Regions from separate parts of the Homo sapiens genome. Here regions 1, 2, 3, 4 and 5 are each linked to region 6. Evidence: promoter capture Hi-C in 16 types of primary human blood cells and fetal thymus (Javierre and others, 2016). All regions are on one chromosome and are shown on one strand. The core of a region is centred on a gene start or on the middle of the fragment in contact, and the rest is flanking DNA. Distances in the headings are between cores, read along the strand shown. Region 1 has its middle 43 kb from the start of LINC01887. Region 2 has its middle 2.7 kb from the start of SEH1L. Region 3 overlaps VAPA (VAMP associated protein A). Region 4 holds the start of VAPA (VAMP associated protein A). Region 5 overlaps RNMT (RNA guanine-7 methyltransferase). Region 6 holds the start of MPPE1 (metallophosphoesterase 1).

Region 1 (3,768 bases), core at 81-2,580, 1.3 Mb before region 6:
CACACCTGTAATCTCAGCACTTTGGGAGTGCAAGGCGGGTGGATCACTGGAGGTCAGGAGTTCGAGACCAGCCTGGCCAACATGGTGAAACCCTGTCTCTACTAAAAATACAAAAATTAGCTGGGCATGGCGGCACGTGCCTGTAATTCCAGATACTTGGGAGGCTGAGGCAGGAGAACCACTTGACCCTGGGAGGCAGAGGTTGCAGTGAGCAGAGATCGCACCATTGCACAACAAGAGTGAGACTCCATCTCAAAAAAAAAAAAAGAAAAAGAAAAAAGAAACAGAAGACAAATGTGCTTTCAATCCAGCATTCCTCAGAGTCTGTAAGTTGGCTTTTCAACAATTTATCCACTTAGTTTTCCATTTTGATGGGGTGGCATTTCCGGTTGTGTGTCCACATCTGTATGGTTTCTGTGTTCACAGAGGAAGAAGGCAGGGCTTGGGAAGAGGCAGCCATCACTGCACATTCCCTGGGAGGGATTTTCGCATGGCCTGTGGGCTTTTGCTTGCTTATTCGGATCAGAGAAACAAATACATAGAGACTAAGGACAATTTTCAGTGTTATATTGCCCGCAGCTCTCACTGCTCGCAGAAGAGTGAGCGGGACTGTGCATGGGGCCTGGGAGAGGATATTTTCTTCCCATGCATACATGAGGGAAGGCTCTTTATTTCGAACAACTCAAAATTTAAGGGGTAGAGTTGAACACATACGAGATGAAGCATGAAAAAAAATTACTGATTTTATTTCTTTGACTTCCTGAGCACGTGCACACCAGAATGAACACTACAGCAGCCGGGAGTGTCATGGGGCCCCTTGAAAGTGAGGTGCCCCTCATCACCCACACTGTGGCCCTCCTCCCTGGCTCAGCTTCCTTTCACCAGGTGAATGGTGGCGATGGCCTCTTGACCTGAGAAACCAGCCTTCCTTTTATGCCTGTGTGCCTAAGCTAAAAGATCAACAGCTGTCTCCCCTTCAATGTGTAGATATTACAATCTGAAAATAAAATCCTCTTTATCAAAACAATAATCTGAAAATTAGCATAACGTTAGGTTCCTGGTATTATAGATGAAGAAATTAGAGAAACATTTTAATAATAGCACTGAGGAGGGATATTTTACTGCTCAGTTGGTGAGTTAGAGGATACAGTTACTGCCAAGAAATCTTTCTGCTTTTATTTTCCTTACTGAACAAATCAATGAATAATACAGATATAGATGCAAGGTGTTCTGGCCCAGTATCCCTGTGACATTCTGTATTTCCTTATCTAATTGGCTGCTTAGCTTTTTGTCCATCACGTATCTTTACTGTGTATCACCTATTTATCTCTCTGTAATTCCATCATCATAATTCCCATCCCCATCAATGTTGCCTTTCCAACTAGAAGTCCATGCAGAGTTCCACAGTTCTTAACCACACATAATGTCTCACACAAAATAACTGGTTTAGTAAATATTTCTTTTTAGTTGTTGTTTTGTGGAAATTCTTTAATTTTTGTTCATTTGAAAAGAAAAGAACATCAAGCAACCCAAAAAGTGCAAAGGAAAAAAAATTCATTCAAATTTTATTATTCAGAAATAAACGTTACCTTTGTGACTATCACTCCAGTCTCCTTTCCGTGTGGATACTGGTGAAAGGGTCAATAGATAAACACATTATTATATAGGATTCTGTTTACTAATTAAAAATAAAGTTATAACAATCGCCATTGAATTTAATAAAAGAAAAAAATGAAATAATTGTTGAAATTCAGATAAATGTTTCTTCATCAGAGGTATTCATTTCTGTAAGATTCTTCTCAAATTTAAAAAGGATTGTTTATGCTTGTATTTCTAACTATTTTAAGCATTTTTAGGCATTTTCTGTTGATTCTCAGCTCTGAAATATGGGGCAATTGGTACAATCTTGGGTCCTTGAATAGTTTTTCTTAAAATGTCCTGACTTTTAAAAAGTTATATAATCATGCCTGTAATCCCAGCACTTTGGGAGGCCGAGGCAGGCGGATCACGAAGTCAGGAGATCAAGACCATCCTGGCTAACACGGTGAAACCCCATCTCTACTGAAAATACAAAAAAAAAAATGGTGTGAACCCAGGAGGCAGAGCTTGCAGTGAGCCGAGATCGCACCACTGCACTCCAGCCTGGGCAACAGAGGGAGACTCTGTCTCAAAAAAAAAAAGTTATATTAAAATTTTTCTATTTTCAAAGTTCCTAACACTTCTCTTTTTTCACCAAAGTTTTCTAGTTCTTTAGTCTTAGTTTTATAGTTGATAGATTTAGAACTCACCACCAGTCTTTTTTTTTTTCTTTTTCTTTTTAGTTGACCTGGAATAAGTGTACATATTTATGGGGTAAGAGTGATATTTTCATACATGTATACGATGTGTAATGATCAAATCAGGGTAATTGGGATGTCAGTCACCCCCAACATTTATCTTTTCTTTGTGTTGGAAACATTACAAATCCTCTCTTGTAGCTATTTTGAAATATACAATAAATTACTATTAACTATTATTTCCCTACTCTAATATTGAACAGAAGATAGTATTTTTTCTCTCTGTGTTTTTCTACTCATTAGCCAACCTTTCCTCATCCCCCTATCGCCTCTACCCTTCCCAGCCTCTGGCAACCACCAATCTACTCTCCACCTCCATGAGATCCACTTTTTAGCTCCCACATATGACAAAATATGATATTTGGCTTTTATGTCTGGCTTGTTTTACTTAACATAATGACCTCCAGTCTCATACATGTTGCTGCAAATGACAAGATTTCATTCTTTTTAATGGATGAATAATATTCCGTTGTGCATATGTATCCTACTTTCCTCGCTTATCCTTTGATGGACACTTAGGTTGATTCCATATCTTGGCTATTATGAATAAAAGCTGTAATAAATATGGGATGCAGATACCTCTTTGATACAATAATTTCCTTTCTTTTGGATAAATACTCAGCAGTAGGATTGCTGGATCTTCTGGTCATTCTATTTTTAGTTTTTTGAGAAACATCCATACTGTTCTCCATAGTGGCTGTAGAAATCTACATTCCCACCAATGGTGTATAAGAGTTTGCCTTTCCTGCAGCCTCACCAGCATTTGTTATTTTTTGTCTTTTGGATAATAAACCATTCTAATGGGTGAGATGATACCTCATTGTGGTTTTGATTTGCTTTTCTCTGATTAGTGATGATCAGCATTTCACCACTAGTCTTTGACTACAGTTTTTCCTTTTTTAAAAAAATTATTTTGATTCATCTTTCAATTGGCTAAATTTCATCATTCAGTTTTTCTTTTTCCAATAAGCGCTCATGGAATTCTTGAAGTATTGCCTGCTTGACAGCATCTGCCTTTTTTTTTTTCTACGTTATATACAACTTGGCTAAGTATGAAAATTTTGGGTGACACTCTTCCCACTCAAAACCTTTTAAATAACACTGCACTGGCTTCTGGCATTGAATATTGCACTGGAGGAATCTGAGCCCAGCCCAGTTATTCCCCTTGTATGTCATGTGGATCTTCTGCCTAGATGAACATGTAAATCTTCTGTACCCTTGGAGTTCATTGTCTACTCTGCACCAAACTTGGTGTTGATTCCATTTCATGTGTGTGTGTGTGTGTGTGTATGTATGTGTGTGTATTGAAGGCTGAATTTTAACAAGCTGTAAAATCAAGTATGTCATTATTTCAGGACTATTTAATCCTTAGTTTCTGTTGATACTTTGTGAGTCTTTAAATAATGAATTTATTATTTTTGTTAATGTAATA
Region 2 (3,592 bases), core at 595-3,094, 1.0 Mb after region 6:
AGTTTGTGAAAATCCAGTGAGCTGTGTACACTTGTGATACGTGTACATTTTGGAATCTATATTATACTTCATTAAAAAGCAAAATGTTAAGGACAAAGGCAGTAAGACAAAAAGCAATGGAAATAAGAAAAAAAGCCTTACATCAGATATGGAGACTTTAGAAATTGCAAGACATTAACATATATAACTCTATATTAATAAGTTTAAATATTTCAGTGAAATGGCTGATTATTTATTTATTTGAGACAGTGTCTCACTCTGTCGCCCAGGCTGGAGTGCAGTGGCACGATTTCAGCTCACTGCAACCTCTGCCTCCTGGGCTCAAGTGATCCTCTTCCTGCCTCAGCCTCTTGAGTAGCTGAAATACAGGCGTGCACCACCACACCTGGCTAATTTGTTTTCTGTAGAGACGAGGGCTCACTATGTTGCCCAGGCTGGTCTTGAACTCCTGAGCTCAAGCAATGCTTCTACTTCGGCCTCACAAAGTGCTGAGATTACAGGCATGAGCCACCATGCCCAGCACAAAATGGCTGATTTTTTAAAGGAAGATATAAATGATCAAAATTGTCTTGACAAAAGGTAAAAAATCTGAAGAGGCCATGAATAAAATAATTTTAAAAGGTAGTTAAAATTAACTATACCTATCATCACCCAAGGCATGAGGCTGATAAAATTTTGTGAACGTCATCTACAAAATCTTCACGGAATCTTCTACAAAATCTTCATAGGAATCTTTCAGTTCCTATGCTATTTAAACTGGCGCAGAGCAGGAAAAAAAATGTGAAAGCTTCTTAACTCATTGTAGGTTATTTATTTATTTATATTTTTGAGATGGAGTCTCGCTCTGTTGCCCAGGCTGGAGTGCAGCGGTGCAATCTCAGCTTACTGCAACCTCTGCCTCCAGGGTTAGAGCGATTCTCCTGCCTCAGCCTCCTGAGTAGCTGAGATTACAGGCGCTCACCAACACGCCCAGCTAATTTTTGTATTTTTAGTAGAAACGGGGTTTCACCATGTTGGCCAGGCTGGTCTTGAACTCCTGACCTCAAGTGATCTGCCCGCCTCAGCCTCCCAAAATGTTGGGATTACAGGTGTGAGCTGCCACGCCCAGCCTTCACTGTAGGTCGTATTCTTTCCAGAATATGAACTGGAAACCTCCAAGCTTGTTTTTCCAGACTCTTATTAGCTCTCTATTTCTAGTTAGGTTCTGAATTGAGAGACAGTAGGGGATTCAGATGCAGGAGGAAGAAGACCTTTTCTCCAATTTGTGGAGGCAGCTCACATAGCTGAGTAGTGGTGGTGGTGGCAATGGGTGAGCCTGGCTTCCTGCTCGGGGGTGATGTGAACAGCAGCAGTAGCAGCAGCACTCAGCCCTAGCTCCAGCAGTACTAGCAGAGGCTCCAGGAACCTCAGCTGTTCAGAGCTTGTGGGCTCCCATGGCTGTTACTCTGTTGGACGCCTGCAGTGTAAGCTGGAGTATTGGCTCCTGGCTTTCTGCCTGCTGGTGGTAAAGGTGCCAATGTCAGCAGCCTCAGAGTCAATGATGGTAGCACTGGGTAAAACTATTTTCCCTTTCACGCTCCCAGCCCAGAGTTTCCCGTAGTTACTAGTCTCTGGGTAATCTCACATGTTCCCTTTTTGCTCTTAATTAACCCCTTGGATATATATGTAACCAGTTTCCTGTGTTAAATTCTCTCTCTCTTTTTTTTTTTTTTTTGAGATAGTGTCTCCCTGCGTTGCCCAGGATGGAGTCCTGTGGCACAATCTCGGTTCCACCACCACTCCTGGGGCATTTTTTTGTATTTTTATTTTGTATTTTTAGTAGAGAAGCGGGTCTCGCCACGTTGCCCAGGCTGGTCTTGAACTCCTGAGCTCAGATAATCTGCCCGTCTCGGCCTCCCAAAGTGCTGGATTACAGGGTAATTTAGCCACCAGGCCTGGCTGACACGACCACTTTGGAAGACAGTTTGTAAGTTTCTTATAAAACCAGGCCAGGCACAGTGGCTCATGCCTGTAATCCAAGCACTTTGGGAGGCCAAGGCAAGAGGATCGCTTGAGCCCAAGAGTTTGAGACCAGCCTGCTCAACATGGTGAAACCCCATCTCTGCAAAAAACAGAAAAATTAGCTGGGTGTGGTGGCACTGTGCCTGTAGTCCCAGCTGCTCGGGAGGCTGAGGTGGGAGGATCATCTGAACCCAGGGAATTTAAAGCTGCAGTGAGCCACGATTGTCTGCCATGACAGAGTGAGACCCTGTCTCAAAAAACAAAACAAAACCCCAAAAAACAAAACTAAACTTACTCTTACAATATGATCCAGCAATCATGCTTCTTGGTATCTACCCAAAGGAGTTGCGAACATGTCCACACAAAAACCTGTACACAGATGTTTGTAGGAGCTTTATTGATAATTGCCCAAACACAGAAACAACCAGAATGCCCTTTAGTTGGGGAATGAATAAACACTGTTACAGCCTGACAATGGAATATTATTCAGCACTAAAAAGAAATGAACTCTCAAGACAAGACATGGAGAAAGCTTAAATGCATATTACTATAAGGAAAGAAGCCAATCTGAAAAGGCTAGCCACTCCAAGATTCCCATTATATGCCATTCTGGAAAAGTCAAAACCATGCAGTCAGTGGAAAGATCAGCGGTTGCCAGGTGTTGTCGGAAGAAAGGGATGAACAGGAGCACTAAGGATTTTCAGGGCAGTCAAACTATTCCGCGTGATACTATAATGGTGGATCCATGTCATTATATATTTGCCAAAACCCACAGAATAAAACACCAAGAGTGAACCCTAATGCAAACTCTGAATTTTGGGTGATAATGATGTGTCAATGTAGGTTCACTGATCATAACAAAGGTACCACTTTGGTATGGGATGTTGACAGTGGAGGATGCTGTGCATGTGTGACAGTAGGGGTACATACGGGAACTCTATTTTCTGCTCAATTTTGCTGTGAACCTGAAAGTGTTCTAAAAACTAAAGTCTATTTTAAAAAATCCACTGTTTCACCTAATTCAACACTTCACTCCCACTCTGATAATCTCTGGCAACCAATGATCTGTTTACTGTCTGTATTTAAATTTAATTAAAACAATTTTTAAACTGTTTTGATATTTTTATAATAATCAATATATTTTGATTGGACTTTTATAGTGAGCACTTTCTTTGGAAATGAGTGTCTTTGACCTTCAAAAAAGTTATAGTTGTTATCAGTTATCATAAGAGGTGGGGCCCACCTCTTAAAGTAGCAATAAAATCTTATTTATGGTTGAAAAAGGTCAGGTCATTGCGCCACTTCTCTTTGCAGGTTTCTGTGCAATCCATCAGGGGACAGCTGGGACTAATCATTTAAAAAACTTTCCAGCCTGCTAATTTTACCATACCTCACATTTTTGTCATTCCTGGCCAAAATCCAAAGGGCAAGTCCCTTCTGCAGCCTCATTTTTTTTTTTTCTGTACTTTCGCTCCCCTGACGCAAGCTTCCACTGTCTCCCATCCTAACTTTACCACTACGCCCTCTAGAATGCCTTTTCCTGATAAGCAAAACCCCCCGAGTCGTTGGCTCCTCCACTTTCCGGTTTTGG
Region 3 (3,822 bases), core at 224-2,723, 2.0 Mb before region 6:
GTGAATCACCTAGTGAGCTTTAAAAAGTTACAGTTGACCAGGCTTGCCCCAGACCTAATGAGTCACAATCACAGGAGTATTAAAAGTTCTGTAGATGTTTGTGATGTGTAGCTGAAACTGAGAATTACTGTTTATATAGGACTAATTAGCATGAGACCAAAAAAACCCAACTCCAGAAAATCCAGTAATGCAAATAAAACTGTGCCATTAGGTGTACTCTTTTAGTTAGTGTTTATTTATAAGCACAATAAAGGAATCATGGGAGAAAATATTGCCTTGTACTGAAAAAAGTAAAAAACTGTCCTGCCATTTATCAGATTGGTTAACAGACAGAGATAAAGACAACTGTGTAGTTAACAGGTATTAGTATTTTTCCCAAGGTTCACATTGCACACAGTGTCATAACAACCTCCTGCTTGGAGTGACTTCTGCTTTCTTCTGAGAAACCTTCTGCTCTAAAGACATAGTGCTGTGTGAAGCCATATCAGCAAGAATGAAGCAGCCTACTCTTGACTGGAGGATCTAAGTCATTTTGACACAGAGAAGCACCCTCATTTTCCAGTCCAGGTGCAGAGCTTCAGATAAGGGTTTCCTATGTACATTTCTCATCTAAATTTGTAGTTTCTGAAGAAACAGTATTCTTTCTCTGCTTTGCAGTCGAGACCTGGTGCTACCACTTTACACACAGCCCTCTGCTTTGCTTTGAGCATATAAAAACACTGTTACTTAAATTTCACGCTAAACTGTTTCCTTCCCCCAAATTCTGTGATACCATATCTCTGTTTACGGCAAGAACACCCTTTTGTGCCTCTGCTGTTCCGGTTCCTTAGTTGCAGTGTGTCAGTAAACCCAAATGGCAGACTACAGGTCTGGGTAGTTTTTGGCTGATTGGGCTAGGACGGATGTAACTGATTTTAAATACCATGGGCCACCTTGGAAGTACTCTTCTTTAATTATATTTTTAGTGGGATTTAAAAAAAGGTAAATATAGCCTATCTAACTTTTGCTTTTTAGGAATACATTTCTCAGCTCCAGTTTTAAAAAATCAGTGTTATTGAGGTATAATTTATATCCCATGGAGACACCCACTGTGAGTGTACAATTCATTGATACATAGAACTTTGTAACCATCACTATAGTTCAGTTTTAGAATGTCTATCACCCCCGGAAAGTTTCCTTATGTGGTTAGCAGTTAATCCCCTTTTCCGTCCCCAGCCATAGGCAACCACTAATCTACTTTCCGTCCCTATAGATTTTTAGCTCCAGTAGTCTCGTTAGTATGCTTGTTTTTAAAAACCTTTTGTGTGTGTGTTTTTTTTCTAGGATGAAGGTTTAAGGCTCAGAAAGGTAGCACATTCGGATAAACCTGGATCAACCTCAACTGCATCCTTCAGAGATAATGTCACCAGTCCTCTTCCTTCACTTCTTGTTGTAATTGCAGCCATTTTCATTGGATTCTTTCTAGGGAAATTCATCTTGTAGAGTGAAGCATGCAGAGTGCTGTTTCTTTTTTTTTTTTTCTCTTGACCAGAAAAAGATTTGTTTACCTACCATTTCATTGGTAGTATGGCCCACGGTGACCATTTTTTTGTGTGTACAGCGTCATATAGGCTTTGCCTTTAATGATCTCTTACGGTTAGAAAACACAATAAAAACAAACTGTTCGGCTACTGGACAGGTTGTATATTACCAGATCATCACTAGCAGATGTCAGTTGCACATTGAGTCCTTTATGAAATTCATAAATAAAGAATTGTTCTTTCTTTGTGGTTTTAATAAGAGTTCAAGAATTGTTCAGAGTCTTGTAAATGTTATTTTAATAATCCCTTTAAATTTTATCTGTTGCTGTTACCTCTTGAAATATGATTTATTTAGATTGCTAATCCCACTCATTCAGGAAATGCCAAGAGGTATTCCTTGGGGAAATGGTGCCTCTTACAGTGTAAATTTTTCCTCCTTTACCTTTGCTAATATCATGGCAGAATTTTTCTTATCCCTTGTGAGGCAGTTGTTGACTGAGTTTTTCATCCTTACAATCCTGTCCCATGGTATTTAACATAAAAAAAAATAAAACTGTTAACAGATTCTTGCTCGATAGCTTGTTTGTGTCTGTCGTGTTATTAGAGGGAACTCCACTATATATGGTCACTTGAAATTATGATGCAAAGGTTTCTCTTGCATTGAAACCCTCTTGGATATTACAGTATTTTTAATTGAAAGTCCTAATTCTGTTAAGGAAAGGAGTTGATTAAATTTTAAGGTACCACTGGTATTTTGGGAGATTATAATCAGTTTGTTTTCAAGATAATAGAAAATAAGGTCCATGAGAATAGAAGTTATGTGATTTCAGTGAGTTGATGTGTACAGCATGGCTGTGCTCCATCTGATTTACCCCATTCTTAAGTTCTGAGAGTATGTTCTCAAGGAAGATTTAACTCTCTTTGGTTTTAAATTACTTTTTAACCAGCCTAATAAATAAGTCTTACTACTTTTCATAATATTTCATAATAGTTAAAAGTAGGTGTTTTTTTCGTGCTCAATTTGGCACTCAAAATAATGTTCATTATGGAAGTTTGGTAATACTGAGCAAGCCTGTGGAATTTTCTTTATGAAAAATGATTTTAGCCTTTGCAAATGTTAACCATGTGAAACACATTTTCAGTATAAGTATGCGTTACAGGGTTTGATACTTTCCTGCACTTAGGTTTGTCCTATTCTTCATTTATTCATACTAGGATAGAAAATTTTGGAATCAGAAAATAGATCCAGTGTTTAGCTACATACAATCTAGTACAAGTGAATTTTTATTCTTAAACATAGGTGTGTTGGCTCTTTTTTTAAAAGATGCGCTCTACCTGAAAAGGAAATTGGATTTTAGAACTGGATGTGGTGCAGTGAAGTATTTTAGGCCCAGGTCTGTGTACACATTTTATAGAAGAATGAAGTACTCTGAAGTATTTTGGTTGCCTTTTCATTTCAACTGTGTTTTGAATTTGTCAGATCACACATATATTGTGTTATTGGGCGCTGTGGTATCTTTTATAAAACCTCTTGCTTGTGTGCAAAAGTTCCTAAAAGGAAACACAAGTAATGCCTATCCATTACTAGCATGCTATGCTGCATGCTTTACTGCCATTGCTGTATGCTTTACTGTCTTTGTAAAAATCCCCCTCTCCCCTTTTCTGGTAACTGGAAAAGCATGCTAAAAATAGTCTTATATTTTCACCCCATAAATGCAGAATCAGTAATTCCTTGGCTTAAAGCTCTTATATAATCAATATTATTGGTGGTAAATACCAAGTTTGGTATCTCATAGCTATCTTTTTTTAAAGAAATTAAGTTCTTGAAAATTTAGCCAAATCCCGTTTTATGGGAATGCTCTTTAGAATTCATTTTGTTCAGCCCCTTTGTTCTATGGTTGAGAAATCTGAGGCCTTACGAAGGTTAAGAGAACTTTCCCCGTGTCTCACAGGTAGGTAGAGGCAGAGCTGGAACTAGATATCTGGTCTGTTGACTCTAGCTCAGTGTCTTCTGGTAACTGTTGAAAATTGTCTTAGTTTGAGAGATGGCTGAAATAATGAACATAAAATGCTATTTATAATAACAAGTATATGTGAAATTTCTTATTGTAAGACTACTACCGGCTTACTGTTGAATAGTTTGGTTATAGTGTTTAGGCTAGAAATGCCTCCCACATTGGTAATAAACATTACAAAATACAATGTATTTTTAGGTAGGCATTTTATAAAATGCATTATGCCATGGTTGCTTTTGAGATAGATTGTAGTCTGGGTAGCATCTTTAAAATGTATGTGGGCTTAA
Region 4 (3,893 bases), core at 932-3,431, 2.0 Mb before region 6:
GATTCCTTCCAGTGGGTTCCTGGTCTTGCTGACTTCAAAAATGAAGCCCCGGACCTTCACGGTGAATGTTACAGCTCTTAAAGATGGCACAAACCCAGGCCAGGCGTGGTGGCTCATGCCTGTAATCCCAACACTTTGGGAGGCCAAGGCGGGTGGATCACTAGGTCAGTCCTGTAATCCCAGCACTTTGGGAGGCCAAGGCGGGTGAATCATGAGGTCAGGAGATCGAGACCATCCTGGTTAACACGGTGAAACCCCACCTCTACTAAAAATATAAAAAAATTAGCTGGGCATGGAGACAGGCGCCTGTAGTCCCAGCTACTCAGGTGGCTGAGGCAGGAGAATGGCGTGAACCTGGGAGGCGGAGCTTGCAGTGAGCTGAGATCACGCCACTGCACTCTAGCCTGGGGGACAGAGCGAGACTCCCTCTCAAAAAAAAAAAAAAAAAAAAAGAAAGAAAGAAATGATGGCACAAACCCAAAGACTGAGCAGCAGCAAGATTTATTGTGAAGAGCAAAAGAACAAAGCTTCCACAATGTGGAAAAGGACCCAAGCAGGCTGCCCCTGCAGGCTGGGGTGGCCAGTTTTTATTGGCTTATTTGTCCCTGCCCATGCCCTGCTGATTGGTCCATTTTACAGAGTGCTGATTGGTCCATTTTACAAACCTCTAGCTACCTACAGAGTGCTGATAGGTGCGTTTTTACAGAGCACTGATTGGTGCATTTTACAAAACTCTAGCTAGCTACAGAGTGCTGATTGGTGCATTTTACAATCCTCTTGTAAGAAAAGTTCTCCAAGTCCCCACCCAACCCAGAAATCCAGCTGGCTTCACCTCTCACTCCCAGGAATTTCAGGGCTGAAAACACATTCCTCGTGGGTGGCACAATCTTCTGTGAATGCCAGGCTAGCAATTCCAGCAGGCTGTTCCTGGATGGACCCTAATACCTGGATCGCACATGAAAACTTGGATTTGGTGCCTACTTCTAGACTGCTGTTTCGTCTCGTTTATTTTCTAGACAAACTGTGCTGCTCCATGGCAGTAGCATCAATATGTCTTTTGTTTCGTGGCGCTACCTAGGGATTTAAATTCAAACCGTATCACAAAATACAATAAAGGTTTATTTACAGCACATTGGTTTCATTTGACGTTCCTGTACCGGACTACCCTGGCAATCGGCTAAAGTTTTGTCAGCAAGTTTGCTGCTGGGATTTTTCTTATTTGGTTCAGTTTACTACAGCCTATCGTAAGTGATGCAGATGGAGTTAGTTTCTAACATGTGAACGTGAGAACTGTTTTGGTTTGGGTCCATCATTAAAACTGAAGAAGATTATTTGGGTTCGATGGTGTAGATTTTTGACTTTTATTTCTAGTTTCTGTGTGCTTTGTCATATTTCCCCTTGCTTCCTAGACGAGGTGTGTTTCCTTATCTGATTTTGCATCACTGGAGAGAACTCAGGAAGCAGGAGAGGCTGAATTGGATACCACGGGGAATGCAGCCCTGCCAACAGAGGACTGGATAGAATTAGAGCAAACGGACACATCCCCCCACGCCTGTTCTCCACAGGGCAGATTTTATTAATATATTTCTAACATTGGGGCCTCGTTTCAGTCTTCAAGTTTTTTCTTTTTTAGCGCAAACTAGACGCGCTCTGAGAGCCAAAATTAGCGTCCGCGAACCCCACCCCATTGCCTCCAACAGACCTAGCTCTCCTTTCCACCCTCAAACAGCCGTTACTACAGTTCCCAGCAAGCACCGCGCAGGGCCGCAAAGGGCCAGGCCCTCGGCGAAGGCCCCGCCCCGCAGGGGGCATGCCGGGAGTTGTAGTGAGTGGGCGCTTCCCTACTACTACTTGTCCCTTCCACTGGGCATTCCCACTTGGAAGAGTGTGATGCGCTGCCAGAGCAGTTTCTCTAGTTCCGTACTCGGAGCTCAAGGTGACAGAGGACTGCGCTTCCAGCCCTGCGCTGCGCATCGCGTCGGTCCCGCGGACCTTTGCCCCGCCTCCTTCCACACCCGTTCCCTTGACAGCTGGGCTGCGCTCCGGGCCGCGGCAAGCCGCGAGCGCGCAGGCGCAGCAGCCCCGCGCCGCGCTAGGCCGGCCTGGAGGGCGGGACAAGCGCTAGAAGCTCCCGGCCGGGGGCGCGCACGTAGGCACGCAGAGGCCGTCACGTGGGTCGCCGAGGCTCGCAAGTGCGCGTGGCCGTGGCGGCTGGTGTGGGGTTGAGTCAGTTGTGGGACCCGGAGCTGCTGACCCAGCGGGTGGCCCACCGAACCGGTGACACAGCGGCAGGCGTTAGGGCTCGGGAGCCGCGAGCCTGGCCTCGTCCTAGAGCTCGGCCGAGCCGTCGCCGCCGTCGTCCCCCGCCCCCAGTCAGCAAACCGCCGCCGCGGGCGCGCCCCCGCTCTGCGCTGTCTCTCCGATGGCGTCCGCCTCAGGGGCCATGGCGAAGCACGAGCAGATCCTGGTCCTCGATCCGCCCACAGACCTCAAATTCAAAGGTAGGCAGAACGGGGACACCCCCGGGTGGGGTGGGGCGCGCGGACCGCTGGCTGTCGGCGGGGGGGCGCGGAGGGCACGTCCGCGGCCCTGGCCCGAGGGAGCGCCCCCTCCCCCACGCCCCGGCGCCTTCCCTTTCCCGGCTGCTTTCTTGCCGCCACCTCGGCCGGCCTGCCCCTTGCTCCGGCCCGCTTCATCCCCTCCCGCCCGCCCTCGCTGCGGTGCGCGCGCCGGCCGGGGCGAGGCGGAGGGGAGCCCGGCCCTGGCGCCGCCGCCGCCGCCATCTTGCGGTCCCGCGGGGGCGCCTCCTGGGCGTCCGGTCCCGCCCGCGCCGCGGTCCGCCTGGGCCCGCGTCCTTGGCCCCAGAGGCCGACGGCGTGCTTCGGCGGGGCGTGGGCGGCTGGGCACCCGAGGGCGTGCGCTCTGGGCTGCGGCGGGGAGTGGGCTCTGGAGGTGGCGCAAGCTGCGTCTGTCGCCCGCTCCCGGCTGTCAGCGGCGCGGGGAGGCTAGGGCACGGCGCGGGACCCCTTGGGAGTGAGAGCCGCCCCCCGACCCCTGCCCCGGCCCGGGGAGAGCTCGCTGCAGCCGGCCCTCGGGTTCCGCGGAGGGCGTCGCTTGTCACCTTTCCGCCAGGTTTAGAACTCGGCCGTCAGGTGTAGGACGCGCCGGGGAGGTGGAGAGTCCTTGGAGGTGCCTGGCGAGGGCTGCCCGGTGCTGTTGGCACGGACCCAGGTGCGTGCGGGCAGGAGCGATGCGTCAGCCGCAAACGGAGAGTTGTAGGTTCATAGTAGCGGGGCTTCCTGCCTTCTACGACATTTCAGTGTGCCACCCGCGTGCTTTTATTTAGCCCTTTAGTTGAGCTCCTCTGCTGAGAAACCTTCAGTGCGTGTGACTTTTTTGCTTTTACGTTTGCGGTTTCCGACAGATCCTGAGAAGGCTGATAAGGTGTCACCCAGCTCTGGAACTTTGTAGGTTTTTGTAGTACTGCCTGTGATAAGTTTTTTAGTCTGACTTGGTGATCCTGGAAGAATCCCAGGGGCTTTTGGTCGGTTTCCTTGTCAATATGTAGTGTACTTTAGGAAAGAGAGTTAAAATGTACAGATTTTTATTTTTTTTCTTTGTTTTTAAGGAATACTGAAAGAGTGTGAACATCTAATAGAAAGTAGGTTCCTTCCTATCTTTAGTTAAGTGTAAAGTGAGTCCCGTTTTGGAAGTCTATGTCTTGTATTTCAATTGTTGAATGAGAACAATTTTTGTGAGGTGTATAGCAATTCTAGTGCTAAAAGAAAAAATTAAATCCTTTATTGTTGTGTAAGGCTGAGTCCAAGAGAAAGCCAACTACATTGTTTTCCATAGGAAAAACTTCAGGTTTAGGAATTTAAAATATATTCTGG
Region 5 (3,430 bases), core at 618-3,117, 1.8 Mb after region 6:
CAGGCGCAGTGGCTTACGCCTGTAATCCCAGCACTTTGGGAGGCCAAGGCAGGCGGATCACCTGGGGTCAGGAGTTAGAGACCAGCCTGCCCAACGTGGGGAAATCGCGTCTCAGCTAAACATACAAAAAATTAGCCAGGCGTGGTGGCAGGTGCCTGTAATCCCAGCTACTGGGGAGGCTGAGGCGGGAGAATCACTTGAACCCCAGAGGCGGAGCTTGCAGTGAGCCGAGATCATGCCATTGCACTCCAGCCTGGGCGACAAGAGTGAAACTCCGTCTCAAAAAAAAAAAAAATTGTTTTAAAGTCTTAGTGTTTACAAGTAATACCAATTTTTTTCCTATTCTAGTGTTGGTTCATGAAGTTTTACCATCAATTCAAGTAATCATAAATGGCAAATTCTGCAAAAGCAGAAGAATATGAAAAGATGTCTCTTGAACAGGCAAAAGCGTCAGTGAATTCTGAAACAGAGTCTTCATTCAATATTAATGAAAACACAACAGCTTCTGGGACTGGGCTTTCTGAAAAGACTTCTGTCTGTAGGCAAGTAGACATAGCAAGAAAGAGAAAAGAGTTTGAAGATGATCTTGTAAAGGAAAGTTCTAGTTGTGGGAAAGACACTCCATCCAAGAAGAGAAAACTTGATCCTGAAATTGTCCCAGAGGAAAAAGATTGTGGTGATGCTGAAGGCAATTCAAAGAAAAGAAAAAGAGAAACTGAGGATGTTCCAAAAGATAAATCTTCTACTGGAGATGGCACTCAAAATAAGAGAAAAATAGCACTTGAGGATGTTCCTGAAAAGCAGAAAGTATGTTCAGTGTATTTTCATTTATTCATAATAGAATATGTAAGTTTGAAATGTGGAACACCCGTGGATTCATACTGGTTTTTACATAATAGCTTAAGAATGTTCTATTTTTAATAGATATGGTCCTAAGACAAAGTAGGCTTTTAACTCTTATGATTTCTGTTAAGGTGAAACATCTCCTGCTAATGAGATAGATTTTTTAGTTTTTGTTTGTTTTTATTTTCTAATGAGATAATGTTTATCTTATTTTAGAATATTTAACTAGAAACTTTTTTTTCCGAGACAGAGTCTTGCACTGTCGCCCAGGCTGGAGTGTGATGGTGTAATCAAAGCTCACTGCAGCCACAACCTCCTGGGCATAAGCAGTCCTCCGGCGTTTTTAAAAAGACTAGAGTATGAGATCCAAATGATTTACCTATTTTTCTTTTTTATTAGGTGTTCAGCTCTAGTTTTTTTGTCAGAGGTTATCACTTAAAGGGATAACTTTTAAAATTATACCTAGCTTTACATCCCTTTATTAATGTAATTCCTTAAACAGTTTTCAGCTTCTTATTAATGTATTTTACATACTGTTTTAGTTAAGTGAATGCAAATGCCTAATATTTAGCAAAGATATTATAGGGCAAGTTGTTTTCATCTGGAAGTACCACATTAGAAAGGAATTTGAGGCAGAATCTGGAGTTAGAGGAAAAGATTACTTTAATGAGTAAATAAAATTCTGCCATTGGCCCTTATGAGGAAAGTGACTGATAGTGAGGCTTTTGTCATCAATGGAATGTGAATTCTTGTAACAGAGGGGAGCCCCCCCTTTTTTTTTTTTTTTTTTTTGGAGACAGAGTCTCACTCTGTCTCCTAGGCTAGAGTGCAGTGGTGTAAACTCGGCTCACTGCAACCTCCACCTCCCGGGACCTCCACCTCCCGGGTTCAAGCGATTCTCCTGCCTCAGCCTCCCGAGTAGCTGGGACTACAGGTGCCCACCACCATGCCTGGCTAATTTTTGTGTTTTTTAGTACAGATGGGATTTCACCATATTGGCCAGGCTGGTCTTGAATTCCTGACCTTGTGATCTGCCCACCTCAGCCTCCCAAAGTGCTGGGATTACAGGCATGAGCCACTGCGCCTGGCTGGGAGCTTGTATTTTAAACATAGTTTTCAAACTTTTACTAGCCCCAGAACCCCTTTTTCAACTGAAAATCTTACACTTAAACCTGTTACGTAAAATAGGTCAAGGATTTGTTTGAAAGGCCTTTCAGCACATCAGTGAGATTCAGCACTTTGGCTGAAAAGGGAGGTAGGAGGATCCGAAGCCCTTTACCTATCATGGCATTTTTACAGGATTTCTAGGGCCTCAGGAAGCACAAATTGAAAACTGTTGGGTTACATGTAACATATATAATAGCATTATTATAATAGAAATCACTAACGCTGCACATAGCCTACTGAATTCTAATCTCTCTTTTTTTTTGAGAGTCTCGCTCTGTTGCCCATGCTGGAGTGCGGTGGCCCGATCTCGGCTCACTGCAACCTCCACCTCCTGGGTTCAAGCGATTCTCCTGCCTCAGCCTCCTGAGTAGCTGGAATTACAGGTGTGCACCACCATGCCCAGCTAATTTTTGTATTTTTAGTAGAGATAGGGTTTCACCATGTTGGCCAGGCTGGTCTCAAACTCCTGACTTCAAGTGATCCTCCCACCTGGGCCTCCCACAGTGCTGGGATTATAGGTATGAGCCACCTCACCCAGGCCTAATCTCTTTATATACATTATCTTATTTAATTTTCACAACAGCTTTATAATAATAATGTAATTATAGCTTATTCCTAATTTATTCCTTTGTAGAAACACCAAACATTGACTGTCATTTATTGAACTGAATAAATCAGAACTCTGGAAGAGTACTGGGTTTATTAAGACATTGACACTAAAATTAATGCAGATGAAATATCACAATGAAAATTTTAAACCTAGAGATGTTTTTCAAAATAAGGTGATATGGTTTGGGTGTGTCCCTACCCAGATCTCATCTTGAATTATAGCTCTCATAATTCCCACATGTGTGGGAGGGACCTGATGTGAGATAATTGAATCATGGGCGCAGTTCCCCATACTTTTCTCATGGTAGTGAATAAGTCTCACGAGATCTGATGGTTTTATAAGGGGTTTCCCCTTTTACTTGGCTCTCATTGTCTCTTGCCTGCCGCCATGTAAGACCTGCCTTTCACCTTCCACCATGATTGTGAGGCCTCCCCCGCCACGAGGAACTGTGAGTCCATTGAACCTCTTTTTGTTTATAAATTACCCAGTCTCCGGTACGTCTTTAGCAGCAACATTAAAATGGACTGATACACAGGGACACAGAAAACAAATCTTAGGTCTAATGATAATTAGTGAGACTTCTGTGGTTAATTGCCATTGTTTAGTGAAGTTTACCAATTCTAATAGCATTTTATCCATTCACAGGTCAAATGTTCTGAGGCTTATTTTTACCATGTTCTGATCCTTGATTTTTTTCTATTCTCTTTTATTTTCAGAATCTGGAAGAAGGACACAGCTCAACAGTGGCTGCCCATTACAATGAACTTCAGGAAGTTGGTTTGGAGAAGCGTAGTCAAAGTCGTATTTTTT
Region 6 (3,784 bases), core at 451-2,950:
GAGGCCGAGGTGGGTGATCACCTGAGGTCGGGAGTTCAAGACCAGCCTGACCAACATGGAGAAACCCCGTCTCTACTAAAAATACAAAATCAGCCAGGGTAGTGGCACATGCCTGTAATCCCAGCTACTCGGGAGGCTGAGGCAGGAGAATCGCTTGAATGCGGGAGGCGGAGGTTGTAGTGAGCCGAGATCGCGCCATTGCACTCCAGCCTGGGCAACAAGAGCGAAACTCCGTCTCAAAAAAAAAAAAAAAAAATTTATCTTTGAACTTTTCAATTTGTATTTATTTATTTATTTATTTTTAGAGATAGGGTCTCACTCCACCGCCCATTGTAAATCAAAAATGAAATCCTAAGACCCCTCAACCATCTGCATGGACCCCACCAAGGGCATTCCAGAGTTAACCTTGTTTTAGGTTGTTTTAAGCAAAACTTGTTTAGGCCATGATGGGAAGTGGGGGTGGAACTTGACACATTTCATCCTCCTCCCTTTTAGAATTCAGGAAAAGCAGACCAGCATTTAACATGCTGGACACTTAACTTACCTGGAGGCTTCATCTGCATGATAAAACTTCAGTCTCCACAGCCTCTTATTGTAACCCAAACATTCCTTTCCATTGATAATAAATCTTTCAACCAAATGCCAATCAGAAAATTTTCAATCTACCTATAACCCGGAAACCCCCGACCCACCCACCTCCTCAGCTGTCATACCTTTATGGACCGAACCAATGTACATCTTAATCTTACATGTATTTGACTGATGACTCATGGCTCCCCTAAAATGCATAAAACCACACTGGGCCCCGACCACCTTGCGTACGCGTTCTCAGGGTCTCCAAATGGCTGTGTCACCAGCCATGGTCACTCATATTTGGCTCAGAATTAATCCCTTCAAATATTTTATAGAGTTTTGACTTTTTGTCAACCGCAGGCTGCGTCACAGCTCGCTGCAGCCCCAAACTCCTGCGCTGAAGCGATCCTTTCCCCCACAACTTCTCGAGTAGCAGGGACTTCAGGTGCGTGCCACTACACCTGGCTTTTTTTTTTTTTTTTTTTGGTACTTTTGTTGTTATGGTGGGGGCGGGGGACTTGCTATGTTGCCCAGGCTGGTCTCGCATCTCTGGGATCAAGCCATCCTCCCACTTCAGCGTCCCAGAGTGCTGGAATTACAGGCCTAAGCAACGGCACCCAGCCTATCTTTTAATTTTTAACTTCAAAGTTATCGTTAAAAATCTAATCCCCCCAAAATATGAAAAAAATACTTAATATGCACTGACCTGTAGTTTTTCTCTAATTCACTATCTTAAATATATTAATTGCAATCTCATCAACTGCGACTTGCATTTGAAATTTTCCACCTTAAACGGTATTTTTTGATAAGATGGATTTTTTAAAAAATCTACACCAGCAAACTAGAGTGAGAGACCCCTGCAAAGTAATACATGGGCCTTAAGTCACCGAGATTTTCCAGCAAATAATTTGCAGAATGCTGTTTTTCCTAGGTTAACTTGCAATCCTAACACGGAAGGAGGTTCCGTTTTTAGAAGTTTAAATGTTGTCACACGGGCGCAAGAATACATACAACAGCCATGCTTTCCAGCTCTGCGCACAACGCCAGGCAGATGGGGAGCACCGGGCGGTGCGGGAGCCCTTTCACCAGGGCAGGGTGGCTTCGGTGGCCGAGGGACCCGGGAACTGCAGCCGGAGCCGGCGCGCACCCAGCCAACTTCCTGTTTCCGCGGTAGCGCGCGGGCCTGTCACTGAAGCCCCGCCCCGGCGACCTCAGGCGGGCGGGGAAGACCGAGTCTTCCCGGAGCCGCTTCGTCCGCCCGGCGCCGGAGTCCCACGGCCGGTTTGCGGAAGCGGGTCGTCTGAAGGGGCCCGGCGGGTGGCTCCCGGGTCTCCGCGGCCTGTGATCCCCAGAGCGGACAACCGCAGCTGGGGCTCCGTGCGCAACTCGGAGTAAAGGCCGGAACCTACGCTCGGCGGCCGCGTCCCGGCCCCTAGCGCCCTCCGCGAAGTGCCTGGCAGGCTCGGCAGTCTGAGTGTCGCGTTACAGAGTCCCCTGGGCAGTCACCGCTGAAGGGCGGGGGACGCGGGAAAGGCATTTTGGGGACACAGGAGAGCTGCGAGGGCGAAGCACGGGCGAGCTGTCGTTAGGGCCCAGGAAAGGCCCGTTGCGGGGCGCACAGGCGGGCAGGGGAACTCGCGCCCCGCGCCGCGCGCCCGGCCTCCTGACGCCAGGGCCGGCTTCTGAGCACAGCCACCGCGGCGGCCGGGGGCGGCCACTGCTCCCCGCGAGCCCGCTTCCGCGCCCCAGAAGCCCCCAGAGCCCGCGTCCGAGCTCCAGGCCTTGGAGGAGCCAGGCGGGCAGCTGACAGCCCCGGAGCCGCTCCCGGGTTCCGCGCGCGGTGGCAGCCAGGCCGTGCCTCCCCGTTCCCCTCCCGCGCCGCGCTGCCCCTCCGGGACCCACCAGGCCTGGCTGCGCCTCTTTCCTCTCCTCCCCCGGAGCCTTGGAAAGTGCCCTCCAGAGATGTGCTTAGGAAGTGTGTGATGAATAAAGGAGACAATCAGGATAACTATAATATTTATTATGCACTTGCTTTTTTCTCACTGATGTTACTAATTTTAATGGTGTAGCGCGGCGCGTTCCAGTTTTCTAAGTGCTCTCACATCCGTTCAAAAAATCCTCAAAATAAGCCTGTATATTAAAAGCAGGAGCCATTATTTCATATTTCAAGAAGTAAACATGCTCAGAGTAATAATCCACATAGAGCCTTCCAACCAGTCAATTCTGGTACATTTTCACAAATCTATGAGTGTGGTTAATACACGGAGATGTGGTTTGAGGAATTATATAGGACACAGCCAGCAAAATGCCTGGTATACAATAAGTATGCGGTAAATGGTTATTATTATTAAGAATATTGTAATATCTTCAGATATGATCAGGTGAACAACTTTGACATAATCGAAACTGGGACAGCCTGATTCCATAAACACACTAATATGGCACCGTGGATTGTTTGCAGCCTCACCTCTAAAGTATTCTCTCTGACTAACAAAGAAAGGGAAACTAGAACCAGTTAAGCTTATAACACTAATCACAGGCTAAAGGAAATACAGGGGCCAAATGAACCCATTAGATTACACCACCAGGAAGTAATCTGCCAAATCCAGAATGTGGGAAATTCTACAAACCAAATGACCCAATTTCTTTTTTCAAAAATAAATGTTCAGAGGCTGAAGTGGGAGGATTGCTTAAGGCCAGAGTTCAAGGCTGTAGTGAGCTATGATCACAGCTGTGAATAGCCACTGCACTCCAGGCTGGGCAACACAGCTAGACCCCCCATGTCTTTAAAAAAAAGAGGGTGGGGGGACCTTGAGAGACACATTAGCCAAATGCAATTTGTGGACCTTGTTTGGGTCATGATTAAGACAAACAAACTTTTACATAAATAAATGGCATTTTTAAAAACATTGGCGGCCAGGCGCGGTGGTTCTTGCCTGTAATGCCAGCACTTTGGGAGGCCGAGGCGGGCAGATCAGGAGGTCAGGAGATCAAGACCATCCTGGCTAACACGGTGAAACCCCGTCTCTACTAAAAAAAAAAAAAAAAAAAAAAAAATTAGCCGGGTGTAGTGGCAGGTGCCTGTAGTCCCAGCTACTCGGGAGGTTGAGGCAGGAGAATGGTGTGAACCCGGGAGGCAGAGCTTGCAGTGAGCCCAGATCACGCCACTGCACTCCAGCCTGGGCGACAGAGTGAGACTCCATCTCAAAAA

What was found. Contacts are between HindIII fragments. The CHiCAGO score rates a contact against its expected background, and 5 or more counts as called.
Region 1: a fragment that was not itself captured here is called in contact with the fragment with the promoter of MPPE1 in region 6 in 1 of 17 cell types (neutrophils); the score reaches 7.0 in neutrophils.
Region 2: a contact is called between a fragment that was not itself captured here and the fragment with the promoter of MPPE1 in region 6, in 4 of 17 cell types (total CD8 T cells, naive B cells, non-activated CD4 T cells and 1 more). The highest score is 7.3, in total CD8 T cells.
Region 3: a contact is called between a fragment that was not itself captured here and the fragment with the promoter of MPPE1 in region 6, in 1 of 17 cell types (naive CD4 T cells). The highest score is 5.7, in naive CD4 T cells.
Region 4: the fragment with the promoter of VAPA here is called in contact with the fragment with the promoter of MPPE1 in region 6 in 6 of 17 cell types (total CD8 T cells, total CD4 T cells, activated CD4 T cells and 3 more); the score reaches 16.4 in total CD8 T cells.
Region 5: a contact is called between a fragment that was not itself captured here and the fragment with the promoter of MPPE1 in region 6, in 1 of 17 cell types (naive CD8 T cells). The highest score is 5.5, in naive CD8 T cells.

What each region holds. Positions count from the first base shown.
Region 1 is chr18:10,581,951-10,585,718 of GRCh38, forward strand. No RefSeq gene overlaps it. Among named protein-coding and RNA genes, the nearest start is that of LINC01887, 43 kb to the right of the region's middle. The HindIII fragment of the contact is 5,125 bases long and covers 1-3,768 here.
Region 2 is chr18:12,943,484-12,947,075 of GRCh38, forward strand. No RefSeq gene overlaps it. Among named protein-coding and RNA genes, the nearest start is that of SEH1L, 2.7 kb to the right of the region's middle. The HindIII fragment of the contact is 1,374 bases long and covers 1,158-2,531 here.
Region 3 is chr18:9,952,730-9,956,551 of GRCh38, forward strand. VAPA (VAMP associated protein A) reads left to right here. Exons shown (of 6, transcript NM_194434.3): 6 at 1,324-3,822. The coding sequence ends at 1,482. Among named protein-coding and RNA genes, the nearest start is that of VAPA, 41 kb to the left of the region's middle. The HindIII fragment of the contact is 9,151 bases long and covers 1-3,822 here.
Region 4 is chr18:9,911,835-9,915,727 of GRCh38, forward strand. It overlaps VAPA (VAMP associated protein A), which reads left to right and starts at 2,182. Exons shown (of 6, transcript NM_194434.3): 1 at 2,182-2,501. The coding sequence starts at 2,423. LOC124904245 (a long non-coding RNA gene) reads right to left here and starts at 2,114. Exons shown (of 2, transcript XR_007066284.1): 1 at 1,878-2,114; 2 at 1,099-1,499. RefSeq lists silencers at 2,117-2,166, 2,377-3,166 and an enhancer at 2,684-3,301. The HindIII fragment of the contact is 3,402 bases long and covers 526-3,893 here.
Region 5 is chr18:13,731,128-13,734,557 of GRCh38, forward strand. RNMT (RNA guanine-7 methyltransferase) reads left to right here. Exons shown (of 12, transcript NM_003799.3): 3 at 349-807; 4 at 3,337-3,430. The coding sequence starts at 391. Among named protein-coding and RNA genes, the nearest start is that of RNMT, 6.2 kb to the left of the region's middle. The HindIII fragment of the contact is 5,807 bases long and covers 1-3,430 here.
Region 6 is chr18:11,906,617-11,910,400 of GRCh38, forward strand. MPPE1 (metallophosphoesterase 1) reads right to left here and starts at 1,701. Exons shown (of 11, transcript NM_023075.6): 1 at 1,585-1,701. RefSeq lists a silencer at 2,094-2,493. The HindIII fragment of the contact is 5,797 bases long and covers 1-3,091 here.